Linked DNA regions of Homo sapiens: regions 1, 2 and 3 are each linked to region 4. The links are contacts of gene promoters, found by promoter capture Hi-C in human tissues and cell types (Jung and others, 2019). All regions are on one chromosome and are shown on one strand. The core of a region is centred on a gene start or on the middle of the fragment in contact, and the rest is flanking DNA. Distances in the headings are between cores, read along the strand shown. Region 1 overlaps SLC9C2 (solute carrier family 9 member C2 (putative)). Region 2 overlaps SLC9C2 (solute carrier family 9 member C2 (putative)). Region 3 has its middle 60 kb from the start of RC3H1-DT. Region 4 holds the start of DARS2 (aspartyl-tRNA synthetase 2, mitochondrial).

Region 1 (3,084 bases), core at 368-2,867, 320 kb before region 4:
ATATTATCAATAATCATGTCACTATAGCTTGATAAAGTTTCCACATATGCTTGATTGAACATCACACAGTTCTGAAACCTTAAGTCCTATAATAAAATTGCATTTTAGAAAATAAGTCATACAAACTGACAGATGGTATCAAGAAGAAAACAGATTTACTGATCTATCTGAATTATTTGAGGGTGTCAGAAGGTACACAGCCCCTGGCACCAACAGACAGGATTTATTTAGCATTCAGAATGGCCTCTGACAAATTTCTAAATTCCAAATGTTTATGCTGTTAATGGGCCCTGGATACTGTTGCCCAGCCCTAAATTGTGAGCTCTCAGCCACAGCAGGGTAGTTGGCTATGACTCAGGAGATTTCTATTTGCACAAGACTCAGAGTCTTAAAAGATTCAGAGTTTCACTTACAAGTAAGCTTATGTTCCACTTGACAGGTGAATAGGAATAACACAAAGCCAAAACAAAGCAAGCTAGAGTCTGAGCTATACTTCAAGGCTCAGAGTCATAGACTTTAGAACTGGGAGGGAGTTATTATGGGTTGAATTGTGCACACACACACACACACACACACCACCTCCCACCCAATTCTTATGCTGAAGTCCTAACTCCCAGTATCCTGGAATGTGACCTTATTGAAATGGGTCATTGCAGATGCAATTAGTTAAGATGAAGTCATACTGGAATAGGTTGGGCCTCTAATTTGAACAACTAGTGTCCTTATAAAAAGGGGAAACTTGGACGCAGACTTGCACACAGGGAGAACGCCACGTGAATATAAAGGCAGCCATTTATAAGCCAAGGAGGGAGGCCTGGCCCAGATTCTCCCTCACAGCCCCTCAGTAGGAGCCAATCCTCCCAACACCTTGATTTCTAATTTCTAGCCTCCAGAACTGTGAAACGATGCATTTCTGGTTTTTTTACGCCACCCAGTTTGTGGTACTTTGTTACAGCCGTGCTTGCAAACTAACCCAGGAATTTAGAGATCAGCCCAACAGTAGGCATCTCCTGCACAGGGCCCTGACAGGGCTGTCAGCTCAGTCTAAACATCTCCACCCCCATTCAGGGCACAGCTACATGAGCCAGTCCCTGAATCTCAGTCACTGACAGGTGAATCATACATTTATTTGCTGAGGGCACCAGCACAACTGGGAACCAAAAACATTTAAAAATTAGCAAATGTATCTAGTATTTCACAACCAGAAAATCTAAAAAAAAATCAGCTGTTTTGGTTTGATTTTAAAATGCATATACATTTTGAGTTCTGTGATTTAGAGGGAAAAAAATCTTAATTGGCTAGTTCTTTAATGGAAAAAAAAAGAAAGAAACTAAGTATTAAATAGAGATTCTCTATTTAATAATAAATACAATTTTTTTAATGTTTTATATCTGTACTTTCTCATTTATATAATGAATATGTGTTGCTTGTGAATTTAAAAAAATTTAAAGGACATTCATCTTATTATTGAGTCAAGTCTGAGTCCATACAGTTTCTACCCATTGGTCCTAATTCTCACCCCTGAAGTTTCATACTAGACTCTAAATTTGTCCCACTTCTCATGAAGATGCAAGGTAAAAGGAAAAGAGAAGAATTCCAATCCCCTTATCCCTCTGCTAAAATTTTTCTGAAAGTTATTATTGCAATAAAGTAAAAGAAACCTGACTGGCTTGTATGACACACTCATTTTTTAACCCAATATTTATTTATACCCAGTCGCTCAGTTCAGTGAATATTACTGAACTTCCAATCTTTCCCAGTTCACTTCCCCAGTTCCTGACTCACTAGCTAGTAAGGGTTCCAATAGTTACTAAATAGGATACAAATGTGAGATTGTAAATTGTGCTTGTCCAGAGAAAACTTGAACCACTACTCTTTGGAGGGGAAGTCCATGAGAGAGGCTCAGTCACCTCCACAAAGATTTTGAAAAGGCAGGAGATTTACAGACTTATATTAACATCGGCAGAGTAGGCAATAATAAATACAGACAGAGCGTTTGTTAACACATTCTGATTAACACTATGCTTGGTTCAGGGGGGGATCTACCTATTTTGAATTTGCTAAATCTACCTTCTTTTTTTTTTTAGAAATGATTGCAAGTAGCTTGGGAAAATTAGCTGTGACAAAAGGATTGACAACCTGTAGGAACTCAGGATAAGAGAGCAGTTAAAATTCTAGCAATCTCATTTTAGAAAAGCAGACACAGGGCCAGGCACAGTGGCTCACGCCTATAATCCCAGCACTTTGGGAGGCCGAGGTGAGTAGATCACTTGAGGTCAGGAGTTCAACACCAGCCTGGCCAACATGGTGAAATCCTGTCTCTACTAATAATAAAAAAAATTAGCCAGAGGTGGGGGCAGGCGCCTATAATCCCAGTTACTTGGGAGGCTGAGGCAGGAGAATTGCTTCAACCTGGGAGACAGAGGTTGTAGTGAGCTGAGACTGCACCATTGCACTCCAGCCTGGGCAACAGAGTGAGCCTCTGTCTCAAAAAAAAAAAAAATCAAACACAAATTTCCTTTCTATTTTTGTCTCAAAAATATGAAATGCATTTTGTAAAAAATACAATGCATAAAAATTCAATTTATTAATATTTTAATCACATAACTTACCTCATCAATAAGACTTGATTCAAAATACTGATAGGCAGTACTGAGAGCAAGCTTTAGCCATATTTTATATTCCAGAGATGGCCAGAAGGCATCAAAGCCTTCATATAAATCCTCCAGGGAGATAAAGCAGGCCTGAAACAAAAAGGAACCAGGCCATAGCAGCTTGATGTGGAACTAAATTACAAGACCATCAAAAAACAAGATGCCTGCAGATTTAACCTTCAGAAAAACTATCAATTCTAGCATAATTATGATACTCTTGTCATTTAGAAGCATTTGTATTGTGAAAATGGTTGTTTGCTAAGTATAAGATGATAAAATGTATGGTGTGATTAAAGCTATAGACTTTAATAAGAGACCAGAAAAATGTATATCAGTCAATAGATATAATGAAGGATATGGCTCATGAGCCCAAAGTCCAGGATTCAGGAACTAAGCCATATGAACTTATCTATTTTTATTGTCATGGTAG
Region 2 (2,700 bases), core at 105-2,604, 290 kb before region 4:
GGTGGAGTTACACCTTACATGAGCACTTTGCTCCAAACTCAGCTCATAAGGCAAAAAGCACATTGAATCAAAATTACCCTTTAAACCAGGTACAGTAACTCTGAACGGTAATTCTTATGAACACTAAAGTTTGGTCACACCAATGTAGAATAAATGAAGGAACAAAAAAGAAAATCTGTAAGCACAAACTGGATAGTCAAACAATTCTGCCTTAAAGATAACTATTAAATGTTGTGGAGAATGGGAAGTAGGTGGAGGAGTCTAATATGTGCATTTCACCATCAGAGTTTATAGCAATTTTTTTAATGTTAAGTCTCTGTATCTAACTTCAATAAATACTAATATAATAGATTTGCTTGATGTAATAAGAATTAAACAACAACAAACATGGCATGGCAAGTGAAATCATTTAAAGCCCTGAAGTTAAAAGCTTATGTAATGCAACTCCATTGGAAAGAGAGAAAGGAGGTTTAAGAATTGAAACTGAAAGTATAAAAATCTGCCTTCAGTATCAAAACCAGAGTCATGGAATGAAGGCATAGTAATTGTTAAGGAAATTGAAGGCCACAGTAAAATTAAATTCCATAGGTAGTATCCTATGTGACTGTGGAGCTATGGAGGAAATATTTTTGTTTCTGTACAGTTTGGGAGACATGAACAAATTTTACTGAAACTTAAAGAACTTGTATTTGGGTTACCCTGCTTCTACTGGCACCAAGATTTTTATTCTTTCACTCAACAAATATTTATTAAGTGCTTACTATACGCCAGGCACTGTTCTGGAGGCAGAGGTTACATCAATGACCAAAACAGGCCGAGTATGGTGGTTCATGCCTGTAATCCCAGCACTTTGGGAGGCCGAAACAGGAGGATTGCTGGAGCCCAGGAGCTTTAGACCAGCCTGGACAATAAAGTGAGATCCCATTTCTATTAAAAAATGTAAAAAGAAAGACCAAAACAAAGATCTCTACCTCACAGAGAGTACATACAATATACAGTAAATTGCTGATAAGTACTGTGGGGCAAAAATTAAAGTTGAGCAGGTAGAGGGTAATCAGGAGGATGAGGTAGAAATTGAGGGTGTGAAGGGTGGGTTGCCAGTTGACATAGGCTGGTCAGGAGAGGCCTCTGTGACAAGCTGAGATTTGAGCAATGGCTTGAAGGTGACGAGAAAGGGAACCATGCAGATACCTATTGAGAGGGTGTTCCAGAAGAGACAACTCCTGCTCTCATTTCTTTCAAAACAATGAGGTTTCTTACTCACTTAACACACAATGTAAAAAAAGAATTTTAATACTTTATTTTATTATTATTATTATTTTTTGAGACAGAGTCTGGCTCTGTCACCAGAGCCATCATTGCACTCTGTCTGACTGGAGTGCAATGGCACAATCTCAGCTCACTGCAGCCTCACCTCCTGGGCTCAAGCGATCCTCCCACCTCAGCCTCCCAAGTAGCTGGGACCACAGGTGCACACCATCATGCCCAGCTAATTTATTAATTTTTTGTAGTGATGGGGTCTTGCTATGTTACCCAGGTTGTCTCAAACTTCTGGACTCAAGCAATCCACCCACCTAGGCCTCCCAAAGTGCTGGGATTATAGGTGTGAGCTACCACTCCTGGCAAATCTTAATATTTTAAAATGTGAAATCTTACCTTGAAGAGAGGAAGAAACCTAATTATTCTTAAATATCCCATTATTACTGTAAGCTGTATAAGAGCCAAGTTGTCTGGTCTCAATTTCACAAAGTATACACAAAAGATATCAATGATTCCAATAACCAGGATAAAAAATTCCAAAGTATTCCAACATTGTTGAAAATATTTCCTTTTCAAAATTATTATCTGTACAGAAAACAAATGTCATTTCATAGCACCTATACAGTAATGTTGGGGGGAAGAAATCTATAAAATTAACAACTAAGTTCTTAACTACAAATGAGTTATATTCCGAAAGTTGAGCTTTAAGTTATTCATTTGGAATCCCCCCAAAAATTCTTTAAAATCTTCACCATTTATAATTTGATTTAAAATATATACTCTATAATAAAGCTGGAATGCCAAAAACAACTATTAAAAATAGCAATAAACAGATTCATTGCAATACTATTAATAATAAAGTATGAAATAGTAATGCTCATAAATCACCTTTTACACATTTATACTAATAATTAACTCACATTTTATGACAAAGACCTAGCAAACCAATTCTTATTCACTTATTTATTTCTTGCATCATTACACAAAATATTTGAGGGAAACGTCCATGTCTGGATTTTCAATTCTCCTTTACCTGATCCTTGAGAATCTCTCTACTTTTATGATACTTAACTGATGTCCAATACCATGACTCTTATACTAATTTCACTATTAAACTTGGAAAATTCAAAAAGCTTACTAAAATTCTAGGATCTCATCAACTATCATAGCAAATGGCTCTTGGTATCAAGTTACTTCAATAATATGACAAAATAGATTCAAAATACCTGAATTGCTCTTTTTATAGATTCTATTTCTATTTTAAACAGTACCTTCAATGTTGATTCTAATACATATAAAAACATAAAATAGTAGTTTATTGATATCAGTGCTGATACATTTAAACCTCTTGCCATTGGCCACAGATGTATTATCATAGGATAAATATATATCAAATTTATAATCTGTCCTGTATATTCAAATTCTTCAGAAAATACTATG
Region 3 (2,808 bases), core at 227-2,726, 260 kb after region 4:
GGCTGCCAGTGGAACTGGGAAAGGACCACAGGGGGAAAGAAACTTCAAGCTGAACTTTGTAATAATTTTGATGGAGTGTGAATTTTCCTGGGCAAAATGGAGAAGGGGGTGAACAAGGAGTGCAGATAAGAGCATGGAAGACACAGCAGGCAGGGAGGGGCAGGGCCTGAAAGCCCTGCTTGCTTTCTCAGCAGGGAAGCTTGTAGCCTGGGGCAAGATCTCAGTCCTGCTCACCTGGATATAAACTCCATGCTGTTGGTGGGGCATGGTGGGAGTGAGACTGGCTTTGCTGGCTGCATGGGAGCTGGATGAGACCTGTCACTGCCATCAGGTGTTCCTGAGGAAGAAGAGAAATCTGAAAGTCTGGAAAACTTATTTGAGGGAATAATCGAGGAAAACTTCTCTGGCCTTCCTAGAGATCTAGACATCCAAATACAAGAAGCTCAAAGAACACCCAGTACATTCATCACAAAAAGATAATCACCTAGATACACAGTCATCAGGTTATCTAAAGTCGAGGCAAAAGAAAGAATCTTAAGGATGGTGAGGGCAAAAGCATCTGGTAACCTATAAAGGAAAACCTATCAGAATAACAGTAGATTTCTCAGCAGAAACCCTACAAGCTAGAAGGGATTGGGGTCCTATCTTTAGCATCCTTAAACAAAACAATTATTAGCCAAGAATCTTGTATCCAGCAAACCTAAACTTCATTAAGTGAAGAAAAGATAAAGTCTTTTTCAGACAAACAAATGCTGAGAGAATTCGCCGCTACCATGCCAGCGCTACAAGAAATGCTAAAAGGAGTTCTAAATCTTGAATCAAAACCTCGAAATACACCAAAATAGAACCACTTTAAAGGATAAATCCCACAGGGCTTCTAAAACAATAACAACAACAACAACAAACATAAGGTATTCAGGCAACAACTAGCAGGATGAACAGAATAGTATCTCACATCTCAATATTGACGTTGAATGTAAATGGCCTAAATGATCCACTTAAAAGACATAGAATGGCAGAATGGATAAGAATTCACCAATCAAGTGTCTGCTGTCTTCAAGAAACTCAGCTAACACATAAGGACTCACATAAACTTAAGGTAAAGGGGTGGAAAAAGATATTCCATGCAAATGAACATCAAAAGCATGCAGGAATATCTATTTTTATGTCAGACAAAAAAAAAAAAAGACCTTAAAGTAACAACAGGTAAAAAAGACAAAGAGGGACATTATGTAATGATTAAAGGAGTAGTCCAACAGGAAAATATCACAATCTTAAACATATATGCACCTAATTCTAGAGCTCCCAAATTCACAAAACAATTACTACTAGACCTAAGAAATGAGATAGACGGCAACACAATAATAGTGGGGGACCTCAATACTCCACTGACAGCACTAGACAGATCATCAAGACAGAAAGCCTAAAAAGGAACAATGGACTTATACTATACCCTAGAACAAATGAACTTAACAGATATTTACAGAACATTCTACCCAACAACTGCAGAATATACATTCTATTCATCTGTAAATTCAATGCAATTCCCATCAAAATACCACTGTCATTCTTCACAGAACTAGAAAAAGCAATCCTAAAATTCATATGGAACAAAAAAAAGAGCCCGCATAGCCAAAACAATACTAAGCAAAAAGAACTAATCTGGCTGGGCGTGGTGGCTCACACCTGTAATCCCAGCACTTTGGGAGGCCAAGGTGGGTGGATCACCTGAGGGCAGGAGTTCGAGACCATTCTGGCCAACATAGTGAAACTCCATCTCTACTAAAAATACAAAAAATTAGCTGGGTGTGGTGGCACGCGGCTCTAATCCCAGCTACTAGGGAGGCTGAGGCAGGAGAATTGCTGGAACCAGGAGGTGGAGGTTGCAGTAATCGCATCACTGCACCTCCAGCCTGGGCAACAAGAGCAAAACTCCATCTCAAAAAAAAAAAAAAAAGAACAAATCCAGAGGCATCACATTACCTGATTTCAAACTATACTACAAGGGGATAGTCACCAAAACATCATAGTACTGGCATAAAAATAGGCACATAGACCAATGGAACAAAATAGAGAACCCAGAAATAAAGCCAACTACTTATAGCCAACTGATCTTCAACAAAGCAAACAAAAACATAAGTGGGGAAAGGACACCCTATTCAACAAATGATGCTGGGATAATTGGCAAGCCACATACGGAAGAATGAATCTGGAGCAAAACTCCATCTCAAAAAATAAATAAATAAAAATAAATAAAAAAGCTGCCAGGTGTGGTGCCTCACGCCTATAATCCCAGCATTTGGGAGGTGAAGGTGGGAGGATCACTTCAGCCCAGGAGTTCGAGACCATCCTAGGCAACATGGCGAAACTCCATCTCTACAAAAAATTGCAAAATTAGCAGGGCATGGTGGCATGCGTCTGTAGTCCCACCTACTGGAGTGCAGTGGCATGATCTGGGCTCACTGCAACCTCCACCTCCCGGGCTCAAGCAATTCTGTCTCAGCCTCCCGAGTAGTTGGGAATACAGGCGCATGCCACCATGCCTGGCTAATTTTTGTATTTTTAGTAGAGATGGGGTTTCACCATGATGGTCAGGCTGGTCTCAAACTCTTGACCTCAGGTGATCCACCCGCCTTGGCCTCCCAAAGTGCGGGGATTACAGGTGTGAGCCACCGCGCCCAGCCAGTCTTTCATGTCTTTTAGTGCTATTGTGAATGTTGGGCCTTACAATTTTCAATTCTGACTTTTTTTTCCTAGTATTTAGAAATACAATTAATTTTTGAAATTGATCTTGTAACATTCAACTGT
Region 4 (3,051 bases), core at 289-2,788:
CCCCTTTCCCTAATCCATCATCAGTCTTTCATTGTCACCACTTTTATCATTACCTTGCTTGAGATCCCATAACAGTTCCCACACATCTATATGAAGTCAAATCAGAATTCCTGTCTGGCTTTCAAGGCACTACTGTATTTGATCTTATTATCTGATCCTATCCAGGTTCATTTTCTACTACTTCAGTTCTTCCCCAAGATCCATCGACATTAGCCTTTCCAAAATCCAACATTCTGCATACACTTCCTCTAAGGTTTTGTATACAACATTGGGGGGTGGGGGGATGGGAGTGAAGAAAGTTCCAGTAGACAATTCTTTAAGAGGTTAAATGACAGCCCTATACCCAAACATGCACCCCCTACTCTAGACAGATGATCACTCTACTGTTCTCCCTGCCTTTTTATTCACCTTATCGCCAATTAAAAACACTTCTCTACTCCCGTTTGTCTCAGTAAATCTTATCCATTTTCCATGTGCCATCTCCTCAGAAGTTTTCCTGAGCTTGGCAGGGCTAGTTCTCTTGACAATTCCACTTGCAGTTGTGGTTCACAGCACACAAGTAAAGCTTTGTTGTTTCTCTTGTGATTAGTCCGTGAAGGGGCTCTGACTTGATCACTTTTCTACATTGCCACCAATACCTAAATCCAACCGCCCCAATGCCAATACTTAGCCAGTGTTAAGCACGTAGTGTTTAAACACACCTCAACACGCAAGTATTGTAAGATAATGACCACACAACAGGGCAAATACAAAGTTAAAGCAGGTCCGGGACCAATACAAAGCATCTTTACCAATAAAATGCCGTGATGACGCTGTCACCCATTCCGGATTCACGAATCATTCTTCAAAAGTCCGGCTCCAAAACTATGTGGAGACTGAAATCCCCTGAAGAAAAAAAAAAAAAACCGCCAAAATGACAGCTAAGACAGAGGCCAGACTAACCCCTGGCCCTCCCAAATTCCCTCTCGCTCCACAAGTGGGTTCACAAGAGACACAAACGCACCCAGGAAGACCTCCGCTCCCTCAGACGCGGGGCGGGCCCTGCGACTTCACTCTGGGAGGGACATTTCCGCTCACCCAGCTCTGCGACCCTCGCTCCTGCGGAGTCAGCTTCTGCTCGCGGAGGGGGAAGGGCAAAAGGACAGTGCGTCCCAACCCGTCCCTCTCCAGCTGAGCCTGTCAGAGACCAGCCCAGCTCTGAAATCAAGCCGTTGAGAAAAGGGAATTCGGCCCTCCGCCGCCTCTTCAGTTTAAAATCGTTTCCCGACTCGCTCTGCGGCCCCACGCAGGAAGCCTCCTTGGCGCCTCGCCGATTCCGTATCAGTGAAGCAACTAAAATTGCCATTTTAACTGAGGGCAAGGCCGAGCCACTTAACCACTATCGTCAACCTTTCCAATCGTGCTCGGTTGCTCCTCAGTTTTCCTACCGGTGCGAAGCTTTCTCTCAAATTTCCGCCCGTAGTAGGCATGGCGGCGGCACCTCACCACTGATTCGTTGAATTCCTTCCCGGTAATCTTGGGCACTAGCGGGCGGAGTTGAAGGGCGCTTGGACCCCAGCGGCGATCTGTGTTTGGGTTCGCGCTCTGGGAGAATTTTGGCTTTGCTCGCCTTCCTCTTTCAGAAGACTCGAAATCGGCCAGCAGGTCTGCGAGATTTGAAACGCGACTGTTACTCCTTGTTTTCCGGTTCTGGCCGCGGGAGCCTCTCGAGAAGCGTGGAAAGAGGAGAAGGGCGTATACCTTGTGACCGCCTCTGGTTGTCTTGGGCTCGCGCCTGGCGCCGCTACGTGGAGTCGCTCTCTCGTCGTCACTTTTGGCTGCCGACTTGTTGAGTAGAAGTGCAGACTGATGCTTTAAGACTCAGGGAGAGGTCTTTCCCTTATCTCCACCCCAGCAAGCACCCCAGAGACCTTGGAGATTTGTCTTGTTTCTAGACACGTGTACTCCAATGTTGTGCGGAGGAGGCCTTAAATATTCGAGAAGAGAGTGGGAACTCCTGGAATTTTAAGGGATTTCTGTGTATTTCCAAAACTGACTTTTAACTACCGGCAGCGTGGGATTTCGTGATTGTTTTTCGCCATCGTGTGGCTCCAACATGTACTTCCCTTCTTGGTTAAGTCAGCTGTACAGGGGTTTATCCAGACCCATCAGAAGGACCACCCAACCGATCTGGGGTTCTCTCTACAGAAGTCTGTTGCAGAGTTCACAGAGGAGAATTCCAGGTGAAAATAGCGAAGAGATCTATCCTATGAACAGTACTTCAGCCTGTTATCTACGGCCGGAGAGCTTTTATTCCATTTTTCATTTTTTCCCCCATTATTATTATTATTATTATTATTATTATTATTATTTGAGACGGAGTCTCGCTCTGCTGCCCAGGCTAGAGTGAAGTGGCGCGATCTCCGCTCACTGCAAGCTCCGCCTCCCGGGTTCACGCCATTCTCCTGCCTCAGCCTCCCGAGTAGCTGGGACTACAGGCGCCCGCGACCACGCCCGGCTAATTTTTCTGTATTTTTGGTAGAGCCGGGGTTTCACTGTGTTAGCCAGGATGGTCTCGATCTCCTGACCTCGTGATCCACCCGCCTCCGCCTCCCATAGTGCTGGGATTACAGGCGTGAGCCACCGCGCCCGGCTTTTCCCCTGTTCTTAACTGGATAGCCTTATGTGTAGAAGCGAAATTCACTCTCATTATATTCATTATACGGCAGTTTTTTTTCCCTGAGTTTTTAGAAAGACCACAAAAAGGTAACCACGTAATATATAGAATACTCTGCTTTTGGTTGATGCCTTAAAAAAATCCTTCTTCGGCCGGGCGCGGTGGCTCACGTCGTTAATCCCAGCACTTTGGGAGGTCGAGGAGGGCGGATCACGAGGTCAGGAGATCGAGACCATCCTGGCTAACACGGTGAAACCCCGTCTCTACTAAAAATAAAAAAAAAATTAGCCGGGCGTGGTGGCGGGCGCCTGTAGTCCCCGCTGCTGGGGAGGCCGAGGCAGGAGAATGGCGTGAACCTCGGAGGCGGAGCTTGCAGTGAGCCGAGATCGCGCCAC

Evidence for each region. The method cuts DNA at HindIII sites, captures the fragments that hold promoters and counts their contacts. A contact is called where the count stands out against the background at its distance.
Region 1: a contact is called between a fragment that was not itself captured here and the fragment with the promoter of DARS2 in region 4, in 1 of the 25 tissues and cell types used here (mesendoderm cells).
Region 2: a contact is called between a fragment that was not itself captured here and the fragment with the promoter of DARS2 in region 4, in 1 of the 25 tissues and cell types used here (hippocampus).
Region 3: a fragment that was not itself captured here is called in contact with the fragment with the promoter of DARS2 in region 4 in 1 of the 25 tissues and cell types used here (hippocampus).

Annotation. Positions count from the first base shown.
Region 1 is chr1:173,506,956-173,510,039 of GRCh38, forward strand. SLC9C2 (solute carrier family 9 member C2 (putative)) reads right to left here. Exons shown (of 28, transcript NM_178527.4): 24 at 2,613-2,744; 25 at 1-86. Among named protein-coding and RNA genes, the nearest start is that of PRDX6, 31 kb to the left of the region's middle. The HindIII fragment of the contact is 5,494 bases long and covers 1-3,084 here.
Region 2 is chr1:173,531,953-173,534,652 of GRCh38, forward strand. It overlaps SLC9C2 (solute carrier family 9 member C2 (putative)), which reads right to left. Exons shown (of 28, transcript NM_178527.4): 16 at 2,532-2,700; 17 at 1,657-1,845. Among named protein-coding and RNA genes, the nearest start is that of PRDX6, 56 kb to the left of the region's middle. The HindIII fragment of the contact is 3,914 bases long and covers 1-2,700 here.
Region 3 is chr1:174,080,809-174,083,616 of GRCh38, forward strand. No RefSeq gene overlaps it. Among named protein-coding and RNA genes, the nearest start is that of RC3H1-DT, 60 kb to the left of the region's middle. The HindIII fragment of the contact is 9,405 bases long and covers 1-2,808 here.
Region 4 is chr1:173,823,135-173,826,185 of GRCh38, forward strand. DARS2 (aspartyl-tRNA synthetase 2, mitochondrial) reads left to right here and starts at 1,539. Exons shown (of 17, transcript NM_018122.5): 1 at 1,539-2,222. The coding sequence starts at 2,096. CENPL (centromere protein L) reads right to left here and starts at 1,749. Exons shown (of 6, transcript NM_001387287.1): 1 at 1,078-1,749; 2 at 792-885. RefSeq lists enhancers at 1,026-1,265, 1,243-1,761, 1,496-2,055, 1,762-2,279, 2,921-3,051. The HindIII fragment of the contact is 1,671 bases long and covers 1,002-2,672 here.